Linked DNA regions of Homo sapiens: all the other regions are linked to region 3. The links are contacts of gene promoters, found by promoter capture Hi-C in human tissues and cell types (Jung and others, 2019). All regions are on one chromosome and are shown on one strand. Each heading gives the region's core, a stretch centred on a gene start or on the middle of the fragment in contact. The rest is flanking DNA. Distances are from core to core; before and after follow the strand shown.

Region 1 (3,571 bases), core at 243-2,742, 37 kb before region 3:
CCTGTAGAGAAGGAAAAGTGTTAATTTGAGGAAGGGGTAATTTTTAAGGCTGTCTTATTTTGTTTATGAACTACTTCATAGTCATTACATGAATTTATAAAATATATTTAGAATCACACACCAAAATATCAATCACTGATTGCCAAAAGCATAACCCCACTATCTCTAGTTTTTTAAATTTCACCACGTGGATCTAGTGCCAGCTCCATATTCATCAAAATCAAACCAAAATGTCTCCTTTCCAATTCACACAAGCCTCTGGCTAGAGGAATGCCAGAAGATATTTCAACATCCTTCCTTGCTCTATTTGGCTGCAGAGTCTGTCTCACTGTGAGCTGATCACAGATGATGGAATTCGTCACCTGGGGAATGGGGCCTGCGCCCATGACCAGCTGGAGGTGATTGAGCTGGACAACTGCCCACTAATCACAGATGCATCCCTGGAGCACTTGAAGAGCTGTCATAGCCTTGAGCGGATAGAACTCTATGACTGCCAGCAAATCACACGGGCTGGAATCAAGAGACTCAGGGTAAAAATGGCTACATAACTCTCCAACTCTAGTGTTAGCAGCACTTTCTTCTCTCTTTTTTTTTCCTTTTTTCAAATTTAGGTTCCTATGATTTTTATATTTACTTGAACATTTAACAAGGGAAAGAGAAAAAAGTGCAAACCTAAGGACAGATAGTTTTTCCCTCTGGCTCCAGAGATGGAAATTTAGTAGGAAAAGACCCACTGAAGGGAAGAAAAGTAGGTCTCCTCCCAGCAGAGTCTGTCTAATAATGTCTAGGGCTTAATAACATTCCCAGATTGAAGAAAAAAAAAAAAAAAAGCACATGCCACATTTTTGTTCTAAAGGAAAGAAAGGAATAACAGAGAAAGTGTTTGGTTAAATGGGATTTAAGAATTTAATTTGTAATTGTGTTTCACATTGAGCCCTCTTCCTGGGATTCATATTTTTTAAGGCAACAAGTAAAGTAGACATAGACTTTTACCTTTTCTGTCTTTCTTTTAAGAGATGGGATCTCACTCTGTTGCCCAGGCAGGAGTGCAGTGGCACCTTGTTAGCACACTGCAGCCTCGAACTCCTAGGCTTAAGATCCTCCCACCTCAGCATCCCCAGTAGCTAGGACTACAGGCACACACCACCACACCTAGGTAATTTTATGAAAAACTTGTTTTTTTCATTTTTTAAGACAGGGTCTCCTCTGTCACCCAGGCTGGAGTGCAGTGGCTCGATGTTGGCTCACTGCAACCTCTGTCTCCCAGGCTCAAGGCTTCCTGCCACCCCAGCCTCCCAACAGCTGAGACTACAGGCGTGTGCCATCACGCCAGCCTGATTTTTTGTATTTTTGGTAGAGACGGCATTTTACCATGTTGCCCAGGCCGGTTTCAAACTCCTGAGCTCAAGCGATCTGCCTGCCTTGGCCTTCAGAAGTGCTGGGATTATAGGTGTGAGCCACCATGCCCGGCCTTAAAAAACTATTTTGTGGAGACAAGGTCTTGCTATGTTTCCCAGGCTAGTCTCAAATTCCTGGCCTCAAGCGATCCTCCCACCTCAGCCTCCCAAAGTGCTCGGATTACAGGTGTGAGTCACTGTGCCAGGCCCAGATTTTTACCTTTGCTTTTGGACCTATCCACCATAATAGAGAGACCCAGGTATAGCCAAATAACTAGAAAAAGAAGTTTTTTGTTCTTTTTTTTTGAGACAGAGTCTCGCTCTGTCACCCAGGCTGGAGCGCAGTGGCATGATCTTGGCTCACTGCAAGCTCTGCCTCCCAGGTTCACGCTATTCTCCTGACTCAGCCTCCCCAGTAGCTGGGACTACAGGTGCATGCCACCACGCCCGGCTAATTTTCTTTTTGTATTTTTAGTAGAGGCAGAGTTTCACCGTGTTAGCCAGGATGGTCTCGACCTCCTGACCTCGTGATCCGCCCGCTTCAGCCTCCCAAAGTGCTGGGATTACAGGCATGAGCCACTGCGCCCGGCCGAAAAAGAAGTTTTAAAAAGCTGGATGAATCTGTGTGTTAGATTGTTCTGCTCAACAGATGTTTATTGGAACATCTGCTTCACACCTGCTGTAGGAAAGGCAGTGTGCTTATTCAGGCCCTTAATACCAACCTCTAGGCCAGTCGCGGTGGCTCACGCCTGTAATCCCAGCACTTTGGGAAGCTGAGGCATGAGGATCACCTGAAGTCAGGAGTTCAAGACCAGCCTGGTCAACATGACGAAATGCCATCTCAACTAAAAATACAAAAATTAGCCGAGCATGGTGGCAGGTGCCTGTAATCCCAGCTGCTCAGGAGGCTGAGGCAGGAAAATCGCTTGAACCAGGAGGCGGAGGTTGCAGTGAGCCAAGATCACACCATTGCACTCCAGCCTGGGCAACAAGATGAAACTCTATCTCAAAAAAAATACCAACCTCTAAAAAATCCACGTTGGCCACATGGCCTTGAGCAAATAAAAGAGTACCAAACTTCATCTTGAGTTCGAGTTGGCCTCAGTTCCTCTTCCCCTCTTCAGACATAGAGGACTGTGAGCATAATTGCACTGGGGGTGGCCTTGCAGCCATTTTTTTTCTTCACCAAAGAGAATGAGAGCCACAGGTCAACCAGAGCCTCTTACGTGCCTACTTACATTAGGGTTCCTAGACTGCCTGGCTGCCAGGAGTCTCTTCCATCTCCCATCCTTGGGCGGACCACTTGAGGTCAGGAGTTCGAGACCAGTCTGGCCAACATGGTGAAACCCCGTCTCTACTAACAATACAAAAATTAGCCTTTGTATTTTTAGTAGAAACGGGGTTTCACCATGTTAGCCTGGATGGTCTCAATCTCCTGACCTCGTGATCCGCCCGTCTCGGCTTCCCAAAGTGCAGGGATTACAGGCGTGAGCCACCGCGCCCGGCCCTCAGTTTTATTATTACACAAACAGGTACCAAAGTCATATGAGTTGTTCTGGTCATTGAGAACAACCTAGGATGGAACAAAGTAGAACCCAGGCCCTCTAACATCCTGACCAGTGCTCAGCCTTTGCCCTGCTTTTATGTTCATTGAGCCCCTCGGTAGTTTTTCTAAGAACCAACATTGCTCTTTCTGTTTAAGCCCTCTCTTAAACGTTTAATGTTTCTGTCTTGTTTCAGACCCATTTACCCAATATTAAAGTCCACGCCTACTTCGCACCTGTCACTCCACCCCCATCAGTAGGGGGCAGCAGACAGCGCTTCTGCAGATGCTGCATCATCCTATGACAATGGAGGTGGTCAACCTTGGCGAACTGAGTATTTAATGACACTTCTAGAGCTACCGTGGAGTCTCTCCAGTGGAAGCAACCCCAGTGTTCTGAGCAAGGGTTACAAAGTGAGGGAGGGCAGTGTCCAGATCCCCAGAGCCACACATACATACACATACACACCCTTACCCCCATCCACTCTAGCTTTGTGACCATGGGACTGAAGTTTGTGATGGCTTTTTTATCAAGTAGATTGGTAAAATTTAACCATTCCTGTTGAGGTGCCCATAAGAAAATCATAGGCCAAGATAGGGAGGGGCATTCCAGCAAACCCCGTGTTAATGC
Region 2 (3,527 bases), core at 36-2,535, 33 kb after region 3:
AAGTCCTTTCTTCAATCACCCCCTCATCCCTCCTGTTGCAGGACATGGCCAGGGCTGGGAAGAATGACGCTGTGCTTTTATTGCCCCTCTTGGCAGAAAAGGACCTTGGCTCCTTCAGTGTTTGCCAACCCAGGGAGTCAGACCCCAGCCTCCAATTCTTCCTCCTTTTAGCTCCCCAGCTCTGATCCCCGGTAGGTGGTGGGGAGTGGTGGAGGGGGGCAGTCCTTGCCACATCTCTGAGCTAAATATACCCTAGCAGTCTGCACATGTAGCAACTCTGCTTGTAACCCGAGCCCCCAAGGGAACGGGCAGTTTGGGCCACCCCCTAGGCCAGCAGGGCCAGGCACTGAGGGTGCCGGGATGGAGGCGCCCAGCCGGACCGTGGTGGTGGTGAGCTGGGGATGGAGTGGGGTGGCAGCGGGTAGAACAGCCTCTCAGGAAAGCTGACGGAGGGCAGCCTTTACTCCAGCGTGTCTCCATGCCTCCTCACTGTTTCCTGTCTTCTGCCATTTCTGATGTGTGCGTGTGTATGCGCGTACATGTGTCTGCATATGTGTGTGTATGTGTGCGCATGCCTACATGTGTGTCTGTGTGCACCTGTGTGTCTGCATATGTGTGTGTGTCTGCCCGCACATGTGCGTCTGCATGTGTGTCTGTGTGTGTGCATGTAACTGTGTGTGTATGTGTACACGTGCGCGTGCCTGCATGTGTGTTGGGGTCAGTGAGTGTGTGCGCGCGTATGCCTGCATTTGTGTTGGGGTTGGTGAGTGTGTGTGTGCACGCGCATGCCCGCGTGTGTGTTGGGGTCGGTGAGTGCCTCTCTGCTAGTCTGTCTCCCTGTCTGTTTCCCTGGCTCTTTGACTCTGCGTGCTCCCATCAGGGGGGAGAGGGGGAGCTACGCTGGTTTTCTCTCCTTCTCTCCTTCATGCCTCTTTCCCCACTTCTGTTAGTGACCCCCGCTCCACCCCAACCCTTCCTCCGCGGGTCTCCCATTTTCATTATTTGTCTGGGAAAGAGATGGGCAGCTGCACCAGCTAATGACCTGAGGCCCCTGGGGAGAGGTGGGACTTTGTTTCTGTCTTTCCCAGGTCCCCTCCATGCCAAACTTATGGACCTTCCTGGCCAAGTGACCCTTTTCTGCCCTCAGGAAAGAACCCCTACATCCCTGCAGTCCTCCTCTTTTGCCACATAACCTCCTATGCCTTGTCCAACACCACCCCTGCATAGTCACACAAATCCACACCTCTTGCCTCCTGCCCTCACATGTCCCCCAACCTCAGGGTCACAGATGTCTGGGAGCTCCCCCCCAGTACACTCACATGTGGCTGTACACACACAGTCATATGCAGCCAACTATAGAGCACACCCTCCTCCACACACTTGTACTTGCACATCCACACACACACATGAAGAAGCACGTGCATTCCCACTACCAGGTCTGTACGGGCAACATGTGTCTTACACATATGTGTGCATCCCTAAAGGAGTCCCTTGTGCTCTGGGTTGGTCATTGTGGTCAAAGCCAGCTGTCTGGCACCCAGCAGCCCTCATTTCAGGGAAAGCCCTGTCCCATATCCTGCTCTTAACTTGCCTCTTCGGTCTGTACCAGCCTGGAACTCTTGGGTTCTCTTGTGTCCTAGGAGAGCCTGAGGACTGGGGCTGTAAGTAGTGAAGTTTGATTCTGGCAGTACCAGTTAAGAGGAGCAGGGGAGGTAGGAGTCTGTCTCCCTCTACCCTTGAACAGAAGCTGGCAAAATCTGTGGTGGCCCCATCCTGCGGAGCAGGCCGTCCACGGCTGATAGTGCAGAGAGCTCAGGCCGAAGCTGGTGGCTGCAGTCCCTGGAATGGATGCCACTGGACCTCAGCTGAGTCTATCTCAGCGGGTGCTGGGGGCAGGGGAGGGAAGGAGCAGTGGGAGTAGAGACTCGTCCCTGGCATTCCTCCCTTGCCTTGTGCCCCTATCAGGTTCCCACCCCTCCCTGGGCCCCAAGCAGCTGTCCTTGGGCCTGCCTTCATCTCCTGCTTGCTGCTGTCACCCTCACTAGGGCCACACTTTCCCCAGGGGCCTGAGAAATCTCAGCTCCTGGTCCCTTCCACCTAATACCACCTTGTCTTAGCCCTTGTGGTGTCATGCTGGGCTGGCTGGGGCTCGAGGCATCCATGATGGGTGGCACCTCCATGCCTTCCCAGGCCCAGGAGCTGGGAGGGGCAGCAATGGCCCTGATCTGGCTCTCTCTATTTTCAGGGCTCAGCGGAGTCCTACACCAGCCGTCCATCAGACTCTGATGTATCTCTGGAGGAGGACCGGGAAGCCTTAAGGAAGGAAGCAGAGCGCCAGGCATTAGCGCAGCTCGAGAAGGCCAAGGTGAGAAAGATGTGGGGAGGGGCTGTGCTGGCATGATTTCCCCCAGTCCTGGGCTGTAGAGAGAGCCCAGACAGAACCAGGGCCAAGTCTTGACCCAGCCACTTCCTAGTACCCCTGAACCTTGCTCCTCTGTCCTTCACCTGCACAATGTGGGCTATAATACCTGCCTGCTTATACAGTATAATAAGTATAATAAGTGCGTGTTATTATACTGTTTCCACACATAATAAGGGCTTGATAAGTGCTAAAAATTTCTTTTTTTTGTTTTTTGAGTTGCAGTCTTGCTCTGTCACCCAGGCTGGAGTGCAGTGGCATGATCTCGGCTCACTGCAAGCTCCGCCTCCCGGGTTCACGCCATTCTCCTGCCTCAGCCTCCCAAGTAGCCGGGACTATAGGCTCTGGCTGCCACGCCCGGCTAATTTTTTGTATTTTTAGTAGAGACGGGGTTTCACCATGTTAGCCAGGATGGTCTCGATCTCCTGACCTTGTGATCCGCCCCCCTCAGCCTCCCAAAGTGCTGGGATTACAGGCGTGAGCCACCGTGCCTGACCTGGTCCTGACTCTTAATAGCTGTGTGATCTTAGGAAAGTCACATTAAAAGGAAGATAATAATACCACTTAACTTCAGAGGATTTTTTATTTTTGTGATGAATATAAATGAGAGAATATGTGTTAAGTGTGTAACATGGTACCTGGAACACTAAATGGTCATTACTGTCATTATTGTTTTTTTTAATTTAATTTTAGGCCAGGTGCTGTGGCTCACGCCTGTAATCCCAGCACTTTGGGAGGCCCGGTTGGGCGGATCACTTGAGGTCAGGAGTTCGAGACCAGCTTGGGCAATGTGGTGAAACCCCGTCTCTACTAAAAATACAAAACGTAGCTGGGTGTGGTGGTGTACGCCTGTAATCCCAATTACTCGGGAGGCTGAGGCACCAGAATCGCTTGAACTAAGGAGGCGGAGGCTGGAGTGAGCTGAGATCGCACCACTGCACTCCGGCCTGGGTGACAGAGCGAGACTCTGTCTCAAAAAACATAATAATAAATAAATTTAAATATTTATTATTTTTTATGAGACAGGGTCTCTCTCTGTCACTCAGGCTGAGTGTAGCGGCGTGATCACAGCTCACTGGAGCCTTGACCTCCCATCTCAGCCTCCCGA
Region 3 (3,545 bases), core at 414-2,913:
CTAGCATAAGGGCCCCCTTCAGCACCTCAGGCCCCCCATGTGGCACCCCCCACCCACAATCTTACCACCCACAGCAGAGGAGGAGGGAGACTTAAACCCAGAAGTCTCTCCACCCACACCAGGGAAAGGTTCTCTCAGCCACCAGTGCATCTCCCTTTTCTTGGGCAGACCAAGAGAGGAAGCCAGATCTGCTGGTCAGAGCCAGAAGGGGCAGAAGGAAAGAGGGCTGGAGGTGAGGGAGGGGGACCTGAGAAAATGGGTCCCAGATAATCAACATGCATTAGAAGAGGTATCTTGGTCAGGTGTGGTGGTTCACACCTGTAATCCCAGCACTTTGGGAGGCTGAGGCAGGAGGGTCACTTGAGCCTAGGAGTTTAAGACTAGCCTGGGCAACATAGCGAGACTCCATCTCTACAAAAAATTTTAAAATTAGCTGGGTGCAGTGGCATGTGCCTGTGGTCCCAGCTACTTGGGAGGGTTGAGCCCAGGAGGTCCAGGCTACAGTGAGGTGTGATCAAGCCACTGCACTACAGCCTGGCCAATAGAGCAAGATCCTGTCTCCAAAAAAAAAAAAAAAAAAAAAAAAAAAAAAAGAAGAAGAAGAGAAGGAGAAGAAGAAATATTGGAAATATCTTGAACGGGCACAGTGGCTCACGCCTGTAATCCCAATACGTTGGGAGGCCAAAGTGAGAAGATCGCTTGAGCCCAGGAGTTGGAGATCATCCTGTGTAACATAGCAAGACTTGTCTCTACCAATAAATTTTAAAAATTAGCCAGGCATGGTGGCGTATGCCTGTGGTCCCAGCAACTAGAGAGGCTGAGGTGGGAGGATTGCTTGAGCCTAGGAGTTTGAGACTGCAGTGAGTTATGATCGCACCACTGCACTCCAGCCTGGGTGAAAGAGTGAAACCCTGTCTCTAAATAAAAAAATAAAAAAATAAAAAATAGAAGGTTATTGTGGAGAGAGGGGCACCTTGGAAGGTGATGGTGAGGACCTCTTCCCCCACCTCTCTGTATTATCCCCTGATCTAACTCCAGTTGTGGTAGGATCTTTAGGAGGGGAGCGTGTCTCAGAGAAGTTTGGGGACTTTGGGTGTGAGGACTGAGCCCCCATCTCTGCTGAAGTTCAGACGCCAAGACTGGAAGGGGATAGAGTCATCCGGCTTTCCATCACAAGGAGGAATTGTCCGGCCTGGCCTTTGACACATACACCATAGTCCAGTTGTGTGTATATTTGGAGAGAGCCTTTTCAGGGTATAAAGGCATCCAATTAATGGCACAGATGGGTCCCCATTCTTCCTTCACCAACCTCTGGCATCTATCAATCTTCGCTCTTTGGAAGTCCTAGCTTCGATCTCACTCTCCGCTATCTTGCTGCGGCCCCAACCTATTTCTATTCCCTGCAACCCATCCAGACGCTACTATGATCTCCCCAAGCTTCCCTCAATCTGGTCACGCCCCTCCATCCCGGGTTTTTCAGTGTGAAACTCCCTCCTCCGCTTCTTTCCCCGCCAAGCCCCGCCCCATCGTGTCGAGCCCCCCAAGACTCCGCCCAGTTCGCCCTCCTGGCCACCGAGGCAGCCAATAGCTGAGAGCCTGATTTGCAGGGCTGCGCGGGGGAGCGGCGTAGGGCAGGGGGCGGGACCAGGCGACCTCCTAAATCAAAGTTGGGCGGCGAGGACTGGGCGGAGGGGCCGCCGGGTGCCGGGCTGGGGCCGGCGGGGGAGGGGAGGGGATGGGGGGCGGGCGCAGCGGACGGCGGAGCCGGCTGGACACGGACAGCTCCTTGGCTCCCTCCCTCGGCTCATCCCCGCGGCCCCACTTCCCTCCTCCCCGCGCTGCGAGCAGCATCCTCTGCAGACCCTCGGTCCTCGCGCCCGGGGTCGTCCCGCTCCTGCGGCTCAGCGTGGTGGCCTCCCCTCGCCCGCCACCCCGGCAACTTTCTCTGCCCGCTCCCGCGGGTTGGGGGCTGCCGTGCCGGGGGCTAACTGGGGGCAGCCTCTGGAGAACGGCTTCAGAGTCCCGGAGACGCCCGCCACCCGCAGCCTGCCCGCGGTGGGCCTGCCGTCGGATCTCGGCACCCTCTCCTCCCCTCTCCCCGAACCATGACCGAGATGAGCGAGAAGGAGAACGAACCGGATGACGCGGCCACCCACAGCCCCCCAGGGACCGTCTCCGCCCTCCAGGAAACCAAGGTAACTTGGGGGGCGCAAGGCCTGTCCGCGCCCCGGGCCCGGGCGCCCTCTTCCCGGCGGGGTCCTCCTGTGGGCCCGGGCGTCCTAGGGTCGCGGTCGCGAGGCCCGCGTGACCACTGAGGCTCCGCGCCGCTCCCGGGGGTAGGAGTGGGTTGGCGACGAGGGGCCACAAGGAGCCCCCGATCACACCGGCACCGCACGCCCGCGCGCGCCATCGCGACCTTCTGGGGAGGCGGCCACTGGTCTTCGTTGGAGAGATGGGCGCAGCGAGGCCGGAGGGCGCGCGTGGAGCGGTGCGGGCGGGGTACGCGCCCGGCTGTGCGTGCGAGGCGCACCCTCCAGCGGCCGCCGGGTCCCAGTCCCGGGCTCAGTCCGCGCCTCTATCCTCGCTCGTGTCTCTGAATTTGTCTCTACAACCTGCGTGTCTGTGTCTTGGTGTCTCTGTGTGCGTCTCTCCCCGTCTCTCCCGGCGTCTCCGGGTGTTTATCTCCGCGTCTCAGGGCGTCTCTCCCTGCCCCTCCGCAGTCCTGCATTCCCCGCTCCTAGCCCTGTTGGGCTCGGGGACGCGAGGCCGCGGCCGGGGGTGCGCAGCTGCGGAGTCCGCGAGGGGGCCTGCAGCAGCGCCGGCCGTCGGTCACGGGCGAGGACGGGGGCCTGCGGTTGTGGCTCCAGACCAGAAAGACAGGCAGCCCCGCGCCCCACCACGGGAGCGGGACCAGAGGAGGGGGAGCGGGTAGAAGCAAAAAGAGAAGTCATCGTAATTAATGAATGTCATCATTAACCCTAATTATGGATGATTGTTACTCCTGAGGGAGTCACCATGAATAAATTACTCCCCGCGAAGGCAGGCGGAGCCCAGACTCCTGGCGCTGAAAGGGGTGTGGGGAGGCCGCCGCTCACACTCAGCACTCCCCCGACCTCTAATCCGTCTGCTCCCTTCCCAAGTTCTAGGTGCTGGCGACTGGCCCGCGAGAAGTTCTGTTTCTGCGGGATCAACCTGAGCGGGCCTGGGGTTGGGATAGAAAGGGCTGTGCCAAGGGCGCGCCCTGCCACCTCCCAGACTTCAGGCCAAGACCTCCTCCCTCCCCCTTCACCCGGTATTTTGTTCCCATCCTGCTCCTGTTCTCCAGAGGCGAAAGGGGACAGTGAGGACCAGAAATGATGGGAGCCTGGGCTCCGGAGGCGTCCTGGGTTCGCTAGGCTTCTTTCCACTGTCCCCCTTCCTCCTTCTTCCATCTTGACCATCCCGCAGGAGCTGAGGTTAATTCAAGGTCAAGGTCATCAAGGGAGTGACCGGAGGAGGAGGCCGTAGGGTCAGGGTGGAGTCTGGCAGAGGCACCCCAGGGAGCC

Evidence for each region. The method cuts DNA at HindIII sites, captures the fragments that hold promoters and counts their contacts. A contact is called where the count stands out against the background at its distance.
Region 1: a fragment that was not itself captured here is called in contact with the fragment with the promoter of STAC2 in region 3 in 1 of the 25 tissues and cell types used here (IMR-90 fibroblasts).
Region 2: a fragment that was not itself captured here is called in contact with the fragment with the promoter of STAC2 in region 3 in 1 of the 25 tissues and cell types used here (spleen).

What each region holds. Positions count from the first base shown.
Region 1 is chr17:39,261,134-39,264,704 of GRCh38, reverse strand. It overlaps FBXL20 (F-box and leucine rich repeat protein 20), which reads left to right. Exons shown (of 15, transcript NM_032875.3): 14 at 318-530; 15 at 3,138-3,571. The coding sequence ends at 3,245. Among named protein-coding and RNA genes, the nearest start is that of MIR548BC, 34 kb to the left of the region's middle. The HindIII fragment of the contact is 3,312 bases long and covers 1-3,148 here.
Region 2 is chr17:39,190,312-39,193,838 of GRCh38, reverse strand. CACNB1 (calcium voltage-gated channel auxiliary subunit beta 1) reads left to right here. Exons shown (of 14, transcript NM_000723.5): 3 at 2,246-2,365. Among named protein-coding and RNA genes, the nearest start is that of CACNB1, 5.6 kb to the left of the region's middle. RefSeq lists an enhancer at 486-986. The HindIII fragment of the contact is 5,691 bases long and covers 1-3,527 here.
Region 3 is chr17:39,224,063-39,227,607 of GRCh38, reverse strand. It overlaps STAC2 (SH3 and cysteine rich domain 2), which reads left to right and starts at 1,663. Exons shown (of 11, transcript NM_198993.5): 1 at 1,663-2,195. The coding sequence starts at 2,106. RefSeq lists an enhancer at 1,905-2,405. The HindIII fragment of the contact is 22,351 bases long and covers 1-3,545 here.